Linked DNA regions of Homo sapiens: regions 1, 3, 4 and 5 are each linked to region 2. Evidence: promoter capture Hi-C in human tissues and cell types (Jung and others, 2019). All regions are on one chromosome and are shown on one strand. Each heading gives the region's core, a stretch centred on a gene start or on the middle of the fragment in contact. The rest is flanking DNA. Distances are from core to core; before and after follow the strand shown.

Region 1 (2,700 bases), core at 98-2,597, 530 kb after region 2:
GTTGACAACAAGAAATACGTATTGTAACTTAGTTCTTAGTTGAATTTTATTTCTTACAATTTTAAGCCAGAGTGGGTTGACCTGTCACCCAAGCATGGTTAAAATTGTATTCAGCATGCAACTAGCATGGAGTGTGTCAGTCTTCAATTCATTTCCTTCATTGTTCTTAAGTTTTTCTGCCACAATTAAACCCCACAAGTTAGTCAAGGTGTTGAGATTTTCACTGCTTCTTAATGGATTGCCACATTCCCTGAGGTAGTTTCTTTTGGTCTTAGAGAATTGTCAGGGCCAGCTTTTCTCACCTCCACTGTATGGATATTTTTCTTTTCTAAGATCTTGAAATCAGAAGCTTTTCTCCTAAGTGTAAAAGTAGCTCTTTGTCATACAACTGTAGCGTTTTCTGAAACAGAGTTCAGATGACCTTGAGTCTAAAGTGGCTAACTTTCCAAGGTGTGTATCGCTTTACCAAAACCATTATTTTTCAAGGATTCAAAGAATGTGTTTACAATTGATAGAAAATGGAAGTTTAAAAAAATTAATACTTTATAGCATGTTGAAATGAGGGCAGCCTTATACAAAGTCATACTTTGAGCTTGCCTAGCCTATTGTGATCAGAGAATAATGTAATTTTTGCTTACAACTTGGTAAGCAGGTCAGTTATTCTAACTTATTTTCTGATTAGAACAAAAAGATGTAAAAACTTGAAAACTATTGGGAAAAGAACAAAGAGTGAAGAGGACTTTTGAGTGCTGAGGAATGTGGCAGCTTGGAAAACAAACTTTTTAGGCAGAGATTCTTTGCTAGGTCAGTTTGATAAAGTGAGCATAACCGTATTTTTAATCTTTAATGCTAATGAATAGCATAGATGCTAATAAGCATCTAGGTCTATAAAAAGTCAGCTTTGATAGTGTATATAGATGGCTTTAAACATTGTTTTCTAGCATTTAAACACTTTCAAATCATCCGGTTGCTTGATTGGGCCTAGCTGTCTAAGAGGAGAGAATGAGCCCAGATGAGGAAAAGAGATTGATTTTACTGAGCTAGAATGAGAGGAGAGAGGGTTGAGTGAATGAAAAGAATAGCTCATGTGCTCCCCTCCATCTGTAGTTTAAGAGGGGTTGGGTCCGGTGTTTTGCTTGTTTTCTCGTCTGTAAATTCTTTGATTCTCTGACACCACTCACTATATTTCATTGTGAATGATTTGATTGTTTCAGATAAAGGGGACTGCAATAATACCTTGTGACATGAAGGCAAGATTTATTCATGTTAGAGGCAGGCTTTGTAAAATGGGCCACTCTTCCAATTGACATTTGTTTTTATAGCTGTTTTCATTATGAAATACAATCTAATGCCTGACTAGGTTAAAACCATGTTGTAACAATAGTTCACTAAAATTCCTTACTGATATACAGCTTATGTTGTTATATTCCAAAAAGATGAATATTAAAATTTGCCAATAATGTTTATTTAAATACTATTTTCTTCAGAGGAAAAAAAACTATTTTATGCAAAGGAGAAAGATCTATACACTATGACTCACTTCACTTAAAAAAAAAAAGACTAACGGAAATGACATGGAGAGACTGGGAAGTTCTAGTCATCTTGAGTGACCCATTAGATCTAAATGTTCTTGTTTAGCCCTGGTTTGAGTGAACTAAATTTAGGTGTCTGATCAGTACTTTGGAAATGGTGTAAATGCCTTTGTAATTGTCTGGACTGATATTAGATTAACTGGGAGCACAAGTAGAAATAGTGAAGGAAAGAACTTTTTGCTATTGTTATTTGACATCACTGGCATATTTATAGGAATACTTTGGTGTTTTTGGAAGTAAGTAAACCAACCAGTGGTTCTAAAAAGTCAGCTGGGGGATAATGGTAATGCCGCTGTTTCTTAGCTGCAAGTTATCTGCCGTTACTTCTCCTCCATTTTGCATTTTATCTTGAATAGCTCCTCAAAACCTATTAAAATACCTGGTATTGAATAATGTAATTGAATGTGTACTGAATTTCACAGTGGAAATGAATAAGAAATTTCCTGTGGAGGTTTTTTGACTTAGCTACTGAAATAACGGCCTTTTGTTGTGTGATTCTTTCCCTTTTCTCTTTGTTAAAGAAAACTGTCTTGTGATCTTGTAGATTACAGAATCCTTTTGGCAATTTCTGTTCCTAGCACTGCTTTTTCTTTCTTTCTTTCTTTTAAATAGAAATGGGGTTTTGCTGTGTTGCCCAGGTTGGTCTTGAACTCCTGGCTTCAAGCGATCCTCCCACCTTGGCCTCCTGAAGTTGGGATTGCAGGCGTGAGCAGGTACTTTTTCTGAGGCCTGCCTGAGCCTATATATATTTTGCACAATTTGGCATTCCTCCCTACAGTGTTTATGCTGATTTGTTTCTGGTAACAACTAATACTGGCAAATCGGCTGGGCATGTTACTTTATGCTGCCCATATTCAGGAAAATTGGAATTCTAGCTGGGTCATTGTTCCCAGATGATGTAGTTTGGCACCAGCCATTCCATGTTCACATTTTGAGTATCCAGGAGGGCTGGGGACTTTGGAGTAGTTGGTGATTCCCTCTGCCACATTTCACTGGTTGGTCACTATGGCATCCTTTCCACCACACTAGTAGTCTAGGTTCTCAGATGTTGCTTATGAGCCTGCAATGGTTTCTAGTTTCACACTGCAGAAATGAGTGAAGCCGGTTA
Region 2 (2,700 bases), core at 150-2,649:
ACAGTAGTTCTGCCCTTCAGGTTGGTGGTGGTGGTGGTGTGGGGTGCTTATAGGTTTTTATAGTCTTCCTTCACAGGTGGAAACAAGAACGGTGAGACCTGTGAGGTTTATTTCAGAGCCACCCCCGGGCCTGGTACGCCTCCCAGGGAAGCTGGGGTGGGGGTGCAGCTGCCCCTCACTTGGGCCCACCCCACATGCATTCAGTCAGGGCCCCTATGGAGCCGTGTTACAGCCTTTAGACACAGGATCGAGGATCTTCACGGGGTGAGGAGACACGCCCGGCCCATGCCTTCTTTCTCCCGCCAGCCTACAGGGATCTTTTTCAACGAAACTCTAACCAGGTCCCTCCTCAGCTGAAAATCCTTCGGTGGCTCCCCAGTGCCCTTGAGGCAAAGTCCAAACTCCTACGAGGCCCTGGGGCCCAGCACATCTGACCCCTCCGGGCATGCCCATCCCACCCCATCCCTGGAAGCTGCTCTCTAGGAGTTACTCTGAAGCAGTTGCCACTTCTTCCCTCGGGCCTTTTCCCTTGATAATTCTTCACTTCCTCTGGGAAGTCACCCCGACCCCCTGTCAGGTGACCCGCCTCTTAACGGTCGCCGCGTCCCGTCTCTCCCCCACCAAAGCACACTTCCCTTTGCATTGTAATTATCTGTTTACTTCGTCTGTCTCCCTCACTGGACCAGAAGCTACCCTTCGGGAGAGGCTCTGAGTGTTCTGTCCGGGGCTGTGCCCTGGCCCCAGGTACAGTGCCCCACACGTGCTGGGCGCTCCGTAAACACTGGATAAGGGAAGGAACGGGTGCTCTTGGCTAGCTGGGCCAGGCTGCTTTGCAAAAAGGCCGTGGCATTTCAAGCCGCCGAGAGCCACGTGCGGTGTCCCTTTCCTCGCTTCCTCCCCAGTGATGTGCGTTTCCCTCGTCAATGCCACGCTCTCCAGGCGCCAGCCGGGCGGAGGAAATTTCCGCCCCCTCCCAAGCCCGAGGCGGGGGCGGGCGTCGGAAGGTCAGGTGTCCCGGCCGGCGCGCAGCGCCAGGGGGCGTCAGAAGCGCTCAGACCACCGGGCGCTGAGCCGGTGGGCGCGCGGCGTCCTGCCGGGGTCCCACCTCGCAGAGGCCTCGCTTCGCTCGACGTCCCGCCCCGGACAGCCCCAGCACCGGGGACGACCCGCGCTGCGCCAGCGAACCCCGCCTCGGAGGAGTCCCCGCCCGGGCTCTCACCGCCACGCGGCGCGAGCCCGGCCAGCAGCCGGCGCACCTGCTCGGGGAGTGGCCTTCGGCGGAGACGAGCCTCCGATTGGCGCGGAGGTGACAAAGGGGCGTGGCAGATAAGGCCCCGCCCCTCCCACCCCCCACCACCCCCCCGGAGTACTTAAGGGAGTTGGCGGCGCTGCTGCATTCATTGCGCCGCGGCACGGCCTAGCGAGTGGTTCTTCTGCGCTACTGCTGCGCGAATCGGCGACCCCAGTGCCTCGACCACTATGCCGCGCTCTTTCCTCGTCAGGAAGCCCTCCGACCCCAATCGGAAGCCTAACTACAGCGAGCTGCAGGACTCTAATCCAGGTGCGTTGGAGGGGTTCTGGGCTCCAGGAGGTTTGGGGGAGACAGGCGAAGGCTGCGTGGGGGGCACCTGAGGGAGGCGGCCTGCCTGAGCCAGGATCGAGTCACAGGATGTTTTGTGGACCATTGCGGGCTCGGGAGACCGGGCAAGTGGGTCCCCAGTTCCGGGGATCTGTCTGGGTGGTTGGGGGAGTGCCGTGTAGAGGGCAGGGGTCTTCAGCTTGGGGGGCCTTTGTAGCCGGCGAGAGGCGGAGGAGCTCCGCAAGAGGGGAAGGAGAGGAGGCCTGTGTCAGGAGGGCCCTCTGGACGCTGCTGGGGAGAGTCCGGAGTCCAGAGGGTTGAGGGGAGGGGTGGGGAGACGAGATGTGTGTGAGGAGGGGGATTGGGGCAGGGTGGTGGCTCCGGGGCTGGGATGATGGGGTTCTGGCCTCAGGCTGGAGACTGGGGACTTAGGAGAGGGAGATCAGGAAATGACCTCCTTCAACTGGGGGTCCTACGTGTGAGAGACTCAGATTGGGTGACCTGGGCGAGGAGGGCAGGAACCTGGTCTGTCCTGTGGATAATTTTTTTGATCTAATTATGTATTGAGAATCGGCCCCACCCAGCCCCTGGCCAGCGGTGGGCTCATGTTTGTTGATTGAGTGAATGATTTAATTAACGCCTGACTCTGCTTTTTCTCCCTCAGAGTTTACCTTCCAGCAGCCCTACGACCAGGCCCACCTGCTGGCAGCCATCCCACCTCCGGAGATCCTCAACCCCACCGCCTCGCTGCCAATGCTCATCTGGGACTCTGTCCTGGCGCCCCAAGCCCAGCCAATTGCCTGGGCCTCCCTTCGGCTCCAGGAGAGTCCCAGGGTGGCAGAGCTGACCTCCCTGTCAGATGAGGACAGTGGGAAAGGCTCCCAGCCCCCCAGCCCACCCTCACCGGCTCCTTCGTCCTTCTCCTCTACTTCAGTCTCTTCCTTGGAGGCCGAGGCCTATGCTGCCTTCCCAGGCTTGGGCCAAGTGCCCAAGCAGCTGGCCCAGCTCTCTGAGGCCAAGGATCTCCAGGCTCGAAAGGCCTTCAACTGCAAATACTGCAACAAGGAATACCTCAGCCTGGGTGCCCTCAAGATGCACATCCGAAGCCACACGCTGCCCTG
Region 3 (2,700 bases), core at 103-2,602, 550 kb after region 2:
AATGATCCTCCCACGTCAGCCTCTGGAGTAGCTGGGGCTACAGGCTCTTGCTACCATGCCCAGCTAACTTTTTATTTTTATTTTTTATAGAGACAGAGTCTCACTGTTGCTCAGGCTGGCCTTGAACTCCTGCCTTCAGGCGGAACTCCTGCCTTCAGGCGGTCCTCCTGCATTGGCCTCCCAAAGTGCTGGAATTACAGGCCCAATTTTATTCTTGGGATGTATGTCTGAAACTCTTTCCTTCACTTCCTTCCCAAGCCTTAGTTCAGGCCCTTCTCATCTGTGGTCTTCAAAGTCGCCTTCAGCTGGTTCAGGTCCTTCCTTTCTGCTGTATCTTTCATGGGAGGACATGTTATGTATCACTGTCCTACTTGAAAACTTCCATTCCCCATTGATGAGGGTGTTACCTCCAGATTCCTAACACAGGTGCTGAAGGCATGCCTGGATAAAGGCACTCCCTTGATCTCCTGGCCAGGTCCCCGTACACCTGCAGCGCATGCTCCACATTCTGTCTTTACTGATGCTGTGTCTTCTGCCTGCGGAGCCACCCACCATTCTATTCACAGCCCCTGCCTCAGCGGAGCACGTGCCTCCCTCTTCCTACACTGAGCTGTCCTTTCTATTGAATCCCCTCTTTTTTGTAGTATGGGAAATATTTTATTATGAATACTCTTTTCTCTGTTGCCTCCGTGACCACGTTAACTTTGCCCTAATTCGCCTTAGGACTCCATCTGCTTAGGGGAAAGTTAGGATTTGGTTACAGAAAGCAAGCTGCTAGAAAGAACAGTGTTTAGCTTCTGACAGGCAAAATAGGATTTTGCAACATGCTTTTCCTTTTTAATGCTTAGACATTTTATATGAATTAATATTTTTATTTGGTTGCTTATACATTACTTTCTTTTTAGCTAGAATGTGAACCCTATAGGAACATGGGGATTGCCTTTCACATCTTTGTATCCTCAGTACCTAATGTTCAGTCACCCTGTGGTCTTGTGTCGTATATACATTTAGCCTTCCTTAATTAAACCATATGTACTGGTCCCCGTCCCCCACCCCCAAATAGAGAGAAAGAAATTCCTTGAATACTACATTGCCAGTATCAAACCACACCTTGATATCCTCTGGGGAAAGGGAGGTATCAGTTGAAAAGAGAAAAGAGGTTAAAATCTAGGCATTAAAATGTGTAAGGCTTAGATGCTGGCAATTTAAGGTATGTTTTCCTGAGGTTAATTTTGATTGTGTGCAAATTTTACCTCATATCTAACTGTAGGATTTAGTCACCACATAAGATGGGATACCTCCATAAATCCTTCAGAAATGTTTGTGAAATTAAATAAAGCCTTATTGAAGACTCAGCTCTTGAGAGTCATCTACCTACCTAACAGTTATTCTTGAACAGAAGAGTCTTACTTTTCCCTATAAGGCAGTGTGATAGCCATCTGTATATTCATATAATTTATGTTGGCGCTTACTTCATTTAAAAATGTATTCCGTGAATGCAGTTGCCAGGCGGTGTGCTGATCAGAAACGTGTACCAATGGCCTCTTTTATAATTATAAGAGGAAGACCAACCTGAAACAGTCACACAAATGATTAATTTTAATTGTGGAGGAGTGCTGGGAAAGAAAAATAAAAGATGCAATGCAAGTGTTTACAAAGGAGCTTTGAGCTTGTTTGAAGTGGTCCTTGGGCACTTAAGCAAGGCTTAAAGAATGATGTGATTAGAAGTGGCTTAGCAATTCTAAAGAACACAGGGAAGGCGTGTGGCCAGAACATTGGTCCCTAGAGCACATCGCCTCCTGACATACCATTTCCTTAAGTTAATGTTTTACCACTATACATAGGCCCTCCCCTTTGTTTACCCAGATTTTTTTAATTTTAAGGATGTTTTTAATAACTTAGAATCCTGTAATTTGTTGAACAGTCCTGTATTCCCTTTACTTATATTCCTTGAGATTTTATAAAATATTTTTTACATGTCCCAAGTCTTGATTATATCTTTTTACCTCTTGTTAAGAAATACTTACTTTTCTATTTTTATGCTATATTTCATGTTTACTGTAGAAAACAAAAAAAGTAAAATTTTTCTTTATTCCTATCACTGCAGCTTATAAGCACTCTAAACATTTTGATCTATATTTTGCCAATCATATATTTTAGTTAAAATTGTTGTTGACATAATTGTAGATTCCTGTGCAGTTGAAAGAAATAATACAGAGCTGAGCGCGGTGGCTCACGCCTGTAATCCCAGCACTTTGGGAGGCCGAGGCAGGCAGATCATGAGGTCAGGAGTTTGAGACCAGACTGGCCAACATGGCGAAACCCTGTCTCTACTAAAAATACAAAAATTAGCTGGGTGTGGTGGCGGGCACCTGTAATCCCAGCTAGTTGGGAGGCTGAGGCAGGAGAATCGTTTGAACTCCGGAGGCAGAGGTTGCAGTGAGCCGAGATGGTACCATTCCACTCCAGCCTGGGCAACAAGAGCAAGACTGCATCTCAAAAATAATAATAATAATAATAAATAAACTTTAAAAATAAAACAGAGAGATCCCATGTGCGCTTTGCCTAGTTCCCCCATCCACTGCCCATAACATTTTGCAGAACTGCAGTACAGTATCACAACCACAATACTGACATTGATACAGTCTGCTCATCTTATTCATATTTCCCCAGTGTTACTCGTATCCACGTGTGTATGCA
Region 4 (2,700 bases), core at 178-2,677, 940 kb after region 2:
ATACTTTCCGTATTCAGATTTCAGGCAAGAATTCTAGCAGTGACCACCAGAATTTCCAGTACACCAGTAGAACCAGTTGTTTTCAGGCTGAACTCCTCTAAGAGTTTAAGATATGTATACAAACAGAGGGAAGATGATGCCTGAGGGACAAGGTGAAAGCTGGGCAGCCAGAGGTCTGGCCCCCCGACCCTTCATCAATTTAAGAGTTCACCTAAAATTGTATTTGAAAGCGGGGGAAGATGCCTCGGTACTTAAACAAGAAAAACAGACTGAGGATACTTTATAATATACCAATTTAGATTTAGGGAGAGTGTGAGGTGAGGAGCACTTCCCAGTTTACTTCACTCTAAACAGGTATTGCAGCAAGGCAGGGACACAGCATAAAGAGTGATTCTAGCACTCCACTGCCTACATAAGAACTCCACAGGCATACAGCCACTTGCTGTCGCTGTAAGTGGACAATCTGGCTTAAGATCAATGTGAAAAAGGGAAATAATTCACAAGTAGCCCTTAAGGGGTGCTTTAGGGGAAAACTCTCAAACTTTGTTTTTCCTCTGCCCTCACACCACACAGAAGTCGTGAAGTTGTCTTCTGTGACCAAACGTGTAGGGTTTTTTCCCAAGCAGCGGACACCAGCTGAGTATCCTCTAATTTGGTTCTGACACTGTCTACCTGGATACAGTGTCATATTCCACAAGATGGGGGCTCAGTCCCCAAAACTGCTCTCTCCTTCTTCAGACTCCAACTGTAAGTCTGGGCCTCCAGAACTTCTGACTGACACTTCAAGCTGGGGTTCCCAAGACCCCCTCCTTGAGTTCTATTAATTTGCTGGAGCATCTCACAAAACTTGGGGAAACACTTATGTTTACCGGTTTATTATAAAAAGTACAGATAAAGAAATGCGTAAGGGCACTGGGCTTCCATACCCTCTCTGGGGGCGCCACCCTCCAGGTGTGTTCAACTATCTGGAAGCTCTCTGAACCCAGTCCTCCTGCGTTTTTTTTTTTTTTTTTTAAAGACAGAATCTCACTCTGTCCCCCAGGCTGGAGTGCAGTGGTGCAATCTCGCCTCACTGTAACCTCTGCCTCCCGGGTTTGAGCAATTCTCCAGCCTCAGCCTCCTGAGTAGCTGGGATTATAGGCCCCCACCACTAAACCCAGCTAATTTTTTTTGTATTTTTAGTAGAGATGGGGTTTCACCACGATGGCCAGGCTGGTCTCAAACTCCTAAACTTGTGATTTGCTCGCCCCCAGCCTCCCAAAATGCTGGGATTACAGGCGTGAGCCACCGCGCCTGGCCCTCCTGGGTTTTTATAAAAGCTTCATATAGGAAACCTTACTTCCCTTCCCCGGGGTATAGGGCCAACACCCTCTCTCTAGAGAGGATCTCAAGACCTACAATCAGAAAGCTGGGTAAAGATCAGAATCTTGCCTTGGGACACGTGTAAGGAGAGCAGGAGAAGATCAGAGATTATTTTCTGAGACCTAACGTACCCTATATTATAACAAAACACGGTAATGGGGTTATGGGTGTTATGAGCCAGGAACCGTGGTGGATGAAAACCAGTATGTATCACAACACCACAAGAGGACACGCAGATATGTCCATTTATAAATTATTTCAGAAGCATGCCAAGTCTTTGTATCTAAATGACATAAAACGTTATTTTGATCCCCTAATAATACATTTTTATGCTCTACCGAAACTACTCAGAAATAATTTCCCACAATAGGAAATATATTTCTTTCACTATTCTTGAGTAACAGAATATTTAAACTATGTTCTCAAGTTTTTCGAAGCCATTTCCCAGGATCAAGGCTTCACCGAAGGTAGCTTTTCAAAAGCGTTCTTGTACCAGGTTTTGCCACTTGATGGCTCAAGTTTTCACACTTTCCTCAGAGAAGTTTTATTTGCATTTTTTTTGGTTGCTGTTTTTTATTTTTATTTTTTTTTGAGACTGAGTCTCACTCTGTCACCCAGGCTAGAGTGCAGTGGTGCCATCTTGGCTCACTGCAACCTCCGCCTCCCAGGTTCAAGTGATTCTCCTGCCTCAGCCTCCCAAGTAGCTGAGACTACATGTGAGTGCCACCACACCAGGATAACTTTTGTATTTTTAGTAGAGATGGGGTTTCACCATGTTGGCCAGGCTGGTCTTGAACTCCTGACCTCAGGTGACCCGCCAGCCTTGGCTTCCCAAAGTGCTGGGATTACAGATGTAAGCCACCGCACCCATCCTCTTGTTGCTGTTTTTAAGTGTAACTGATCTTGAAGCAGGATTCTGAGCACTTCTTGCATTTGGATACTCCCAGTCTCAGCTCACTTCTTTCACAAGAGCAAGGATTCTGTCAACCTAAATTTATAATTCGAATTGAAAATTTTAATAAATTCCACCATATTTCCACTAGACAGGAGTTTCTCAAAAGAGACCACTCAAAAGGTTCTCAGGTCATGAGCTTCCACCAGAAGAGCAGAGCTTTACAGATTGTCAACTGAAGCACAGGTTTCCACAAGCTCTTAAATGGAGCATGAAGGATTCAGAAAAAGAAAGGGTAAAAGCCAGCAATTATCTAAGAAAAAAGTAACTGCTCAGGACAGACTGACTGTCTTAAACTAAAAAACTGGGAAAAGAAAAGGGAACATAAACAACGTTTCTTTTTAGATTCTTATACAGTTAACTTCCCAGCAGAAATATGCTACTCC
Region 5 (2,700 bases), core at 93-2,592, 570 kb after region 2:
AACTTTTTGGGGTGATGGAAATGTTTTGTATCTTGGTTGCATTGATAGTTAAATGGTTGTAGACATTGCTTAAAACTCACTGAACACTTAAGTGGGTATGTTTTATTATTTGTAAAATATACCTCAAAAGCAGTTTTAAAAATGTATTCAAGTACATACTTAAGATCTTTGCATTTTACTCTGAGTATACCTTAATTTTAAAATCTGTTTTTTAAAAAGTATTATGTAGATACCTTTTATTTTCCCAATGTCTTTATTAAATGACATCTCCACGTTTTGCTTCTTACCTCTATTTTTTTTTTTTTATTTCTCTGTCTCTCAGGCATGCACACACACACACCAAAAAAAGTACATATGCATAATCCTTTTGGCTGAATAAAATCAGTTGCAACTGTTATTTCGGCCCTTATTTGCTCCGGGTAAATATTCGTTAGCTGAGTGGTTTATCTGTATCAGATATTTCTTACATCTTCATCCAGTCACACCAGCTGGACTGACCAGATTGTTTTTCACTTCAAGGGCAGAATTTGTACTCACTGCTGAATGCTTCCAAATGATACGTAGAATAACAAATTTAAGACTTAGATTTTTACTTTTTCAGGTCTTTTTTTTTTTTTCTGTGCTGTATAGCATTTCCCTGAAAGCTTAATCTCATCTGTAAGTGATGCAGTGGATGTGTTACTATTGGATTAATTTATTTACTCTTAGGTAGGTTTGTAATCTGTCATCATGCTGTTGTTTTTTTGTGTGGGTTTGTTTTTGGTTTTGAGACAGGGTCTCACTCTGCTGCCCAGGCTGGAGAGGCTAGAGTGCAGTGATGTGTTTATGGGTCACTGCAGATTCAATCTCCTGGGCTCAAGTGATCTTCCTGCCTCAACCCCTTGTGTAGATGGAAGCACAGGTGCACGCCACCACACCCGGCTATTTTTTTAAATGTATTGTAGAGACGAGGCATCATTTTTTTGCCCAAGGCTGATCTTGAACTCCTGGGCTCAAACAATCCTCCCACCTCGGCTCCCAAAGTGCTGGGATTACAGATGTGAACCACCACTCGAGCTCCATCATTCTGTTATTAGTTGTTCTCTAGTATGAGTCAAAAACTCTTACCTGCCCTTTTACAGTTTTATAAATAAGTAAGCAGAATAGCAGAATGTGGACATTTTTTAAATCCAAATTGAATATGCACATGACTCAAGGAGTCAAATAGTACCGTAATCGGTTTATGATAAAATCCAGTGGTTTGGCTGGGTGTCGTGGCTCACACTTGTAATCCCAGCACCTTGGGAGGCTGAGGCAGGTGGATCACCTGAAGTCAGGAGTTTGAGACCAGTCTGACCTACATGGTGAAACTACTAAAATACAAAATTAGCTGGGCATGGTGGTGCATGCCTGTAATCCCAGCTACTTGGGAGGCTGAGGCAGGAGAATTGCTTCAACCCGGGAGGCAGAGGTTGTGGTGAGCCGATATCGCATTATTTCAGAACAATTTTCCACAAGATCAGTGAGTGCTGTCCAATAGACATATAATACAACCCACATACATGACTTTACATTTTCTTGTAGCCATAGTAGAAAAGGTCAAAAGAAGCAGATGAAATTAATAGCCTGGGCAACAAGAGCAAAACCCCATCTTTTAAAAAATAAAATAAAATATGGTGGTTTGCTGTCCCCACCTCAGACCATTTCTCTGGTCTTTCTCATTGACCACCACTCCCAATCTTTGTTCTGCTGATTGATTACAGCTTGTATATATCTCCATATTTCTAAGCAAAATGTTTATCTTTTTTAAATTTATAAATTCTTTTTATTATTTTTCAGAGACAGGGTCTTAACTCTGTCGCCCAGGCTGGAGTACAGTGGCACCATCGTAGCTCACTGTAGCCTCGAACTCCTGGGCTCAAGCAGTCTTCCTGCCTCCGCCTCTCAGGTAGCTGAGACTACGCTACAGGCACATACCACCATGCCCAGCTCAAAATGTTTATCTTTTGATACATTATTCGAGACCATTATTAAGGTGGATGATTTAGTTTTCTTAAACAGCCATCCCCTTTCTTTTCCTCCCCTCTGCTTCACCGCCCCCATTTTCCCAATGTTTTACCTTTTGGTTAAATCAGTACTCATTGTTTACATTATTTGCCTCTGCACATAGTCACAGATAGTATTGTACTGTACTGTACTGTGTTTCTTTTTTAAACATTATTTCTGTTGTTAATAATTGACTTTTTAATTTTTTTCCTATTTTGTTTTTTAAAGAGATGGGGTCTTACTATATTGCCCAGGCTAGAGTTCAGTGGCTCTTCGCGGGCATGATCCCACTGCTGATCAGTACAGGAATTTCCACCTGCTCCATTTCCAACCTGGACCAGTTCACCCCTTCTTAGGCAACCTGGTGGTCCCCCATTCCCGGGAGGTCAGCATATTGATGCCAAACTTAGTGCGGACACCCGATCGGCATAACGCATGCAGCCCAGGACTCCTGGGCTCAAGCAGTCCTCCCGGGCTCAAGCAGTCCTCCCACCTAAGCCTCCCGCGTAGCTGAGACTACAGACACTTGCCACCACACCAGGTTAATTTTTGTGTTTTTTGTAGAGGTGGGGTTTTGCCATGTTGTCCAGACTCATCTCAAACTTCTCAGCTCAAGTGAGCCTCCTGCCTCAGCTTCCCAAGTAGCTGGGATTATAGACGCATGCCACCACACCC

Evidence for each region. The method cuts DNA at HindIII sites, captures the fragments that hold promoters and counts their contacts. A contact is called where the count stands out against the background at its distance.
Region 1: a fragment that was not itself captured here is called in contact with the fragment with the promoter of SNAI1 in region 2 in 3 of the 25 tissues and cell types used here (hippocampus, lymphoblastoid cells and mesenchymal stem cells).
Region 3: a contact is called between a fragment that was not itself captured here and the fragment with the promoter of SNAI1 in region 2, in 1 of the 25 tissues and cell types used here (IMR-90 fibroblasts).
Region 4: a fragment that was not itself captured here is called in contact with the fragment with the promoter of SNAI1 in region 2 in 2 of the 25 tissues and cell types used here (mesenchymal stem cells and spleen).
Region 5: a fragment that was not itself captured here is called in contact with the fragment with the promoter of SNAI1 in region 2 in 1 of the 25 tissues and cell types used here (spleen).

Annotation. Positions count from the first base shown.
Region 1 is chr20:50,512,347-50,515,046 of GRCh38, forward strand. All of the region lies in intron 1 of PTPN1 (protein tyrosine phosphatase non-receptor type 1), which reads left to right. Among named protein-coding and RNA genes, the nearest start is that of PTPN1, 3.3 kb to the left of the region's middle. The HindIII fragment of the contact is 4,243 bases long and covers 1-2,700 here.
Region 2 is chr20:49,981,581-49,984,280 of GRCh38, forward strand. SNAI1 (snail family transcriptional repressor 1) reads left to right here and starts at 1,400. Exons shown (of 3, transcript NM_005985.4): 1 at 1,400-1,561; 2 at 2,244-2,700. The coding sequence starts at 1,480. RefSeq lists an enhancer at 1-742 and a silencer at 895-1,414. The HindIII fragment of the contact is 23,979 bases long and covers 1-2,700 here.
Region 3 is chr20:50,534,826-50,537,525 of GRCh38, forward strand. The region is part of intron 1 of PTPN1 (protein tyrosine phosphatase non-receptor type 1); the gene reads left to right. Among named protein-coding and RNA genes, the nearest start is that of PTPN1, 26 kb to the left of the region's middle. The HindIII fragment of the contact is 4,043 bases long and covers 1-2,700 here.
Region 4 is chr20:50,921,583-50,924,282 of GRCh38, forward strand. The region is part of intron 2 of ADNP (activity dependent neuroprotector homeobox); the gene reads right to left. Among named protein-coding and RNA genes, the nearest start is that of ADNP-AS1, 8.1 kb to the right of the region's middle. The HindIII fragment of the contact is 7,393 bases long and covers 1-2,700 here.
Region 5 is chr20:50,555,431-50,558,130 of GRCh38, forward strand. All of the region lies in intron 1 of PTPN1 (protein tyrosine phosphatase non-receptor type 1), which reads left to right. It also overlaps the pseudogene RN7SL672P. Among named protein-coding and RNA genes, the nearest start is that of MIR645, 29 kb to the right of the region's middle. The HindIII fragment of the contact is 3,936 bases long and covers 1-2,700 here.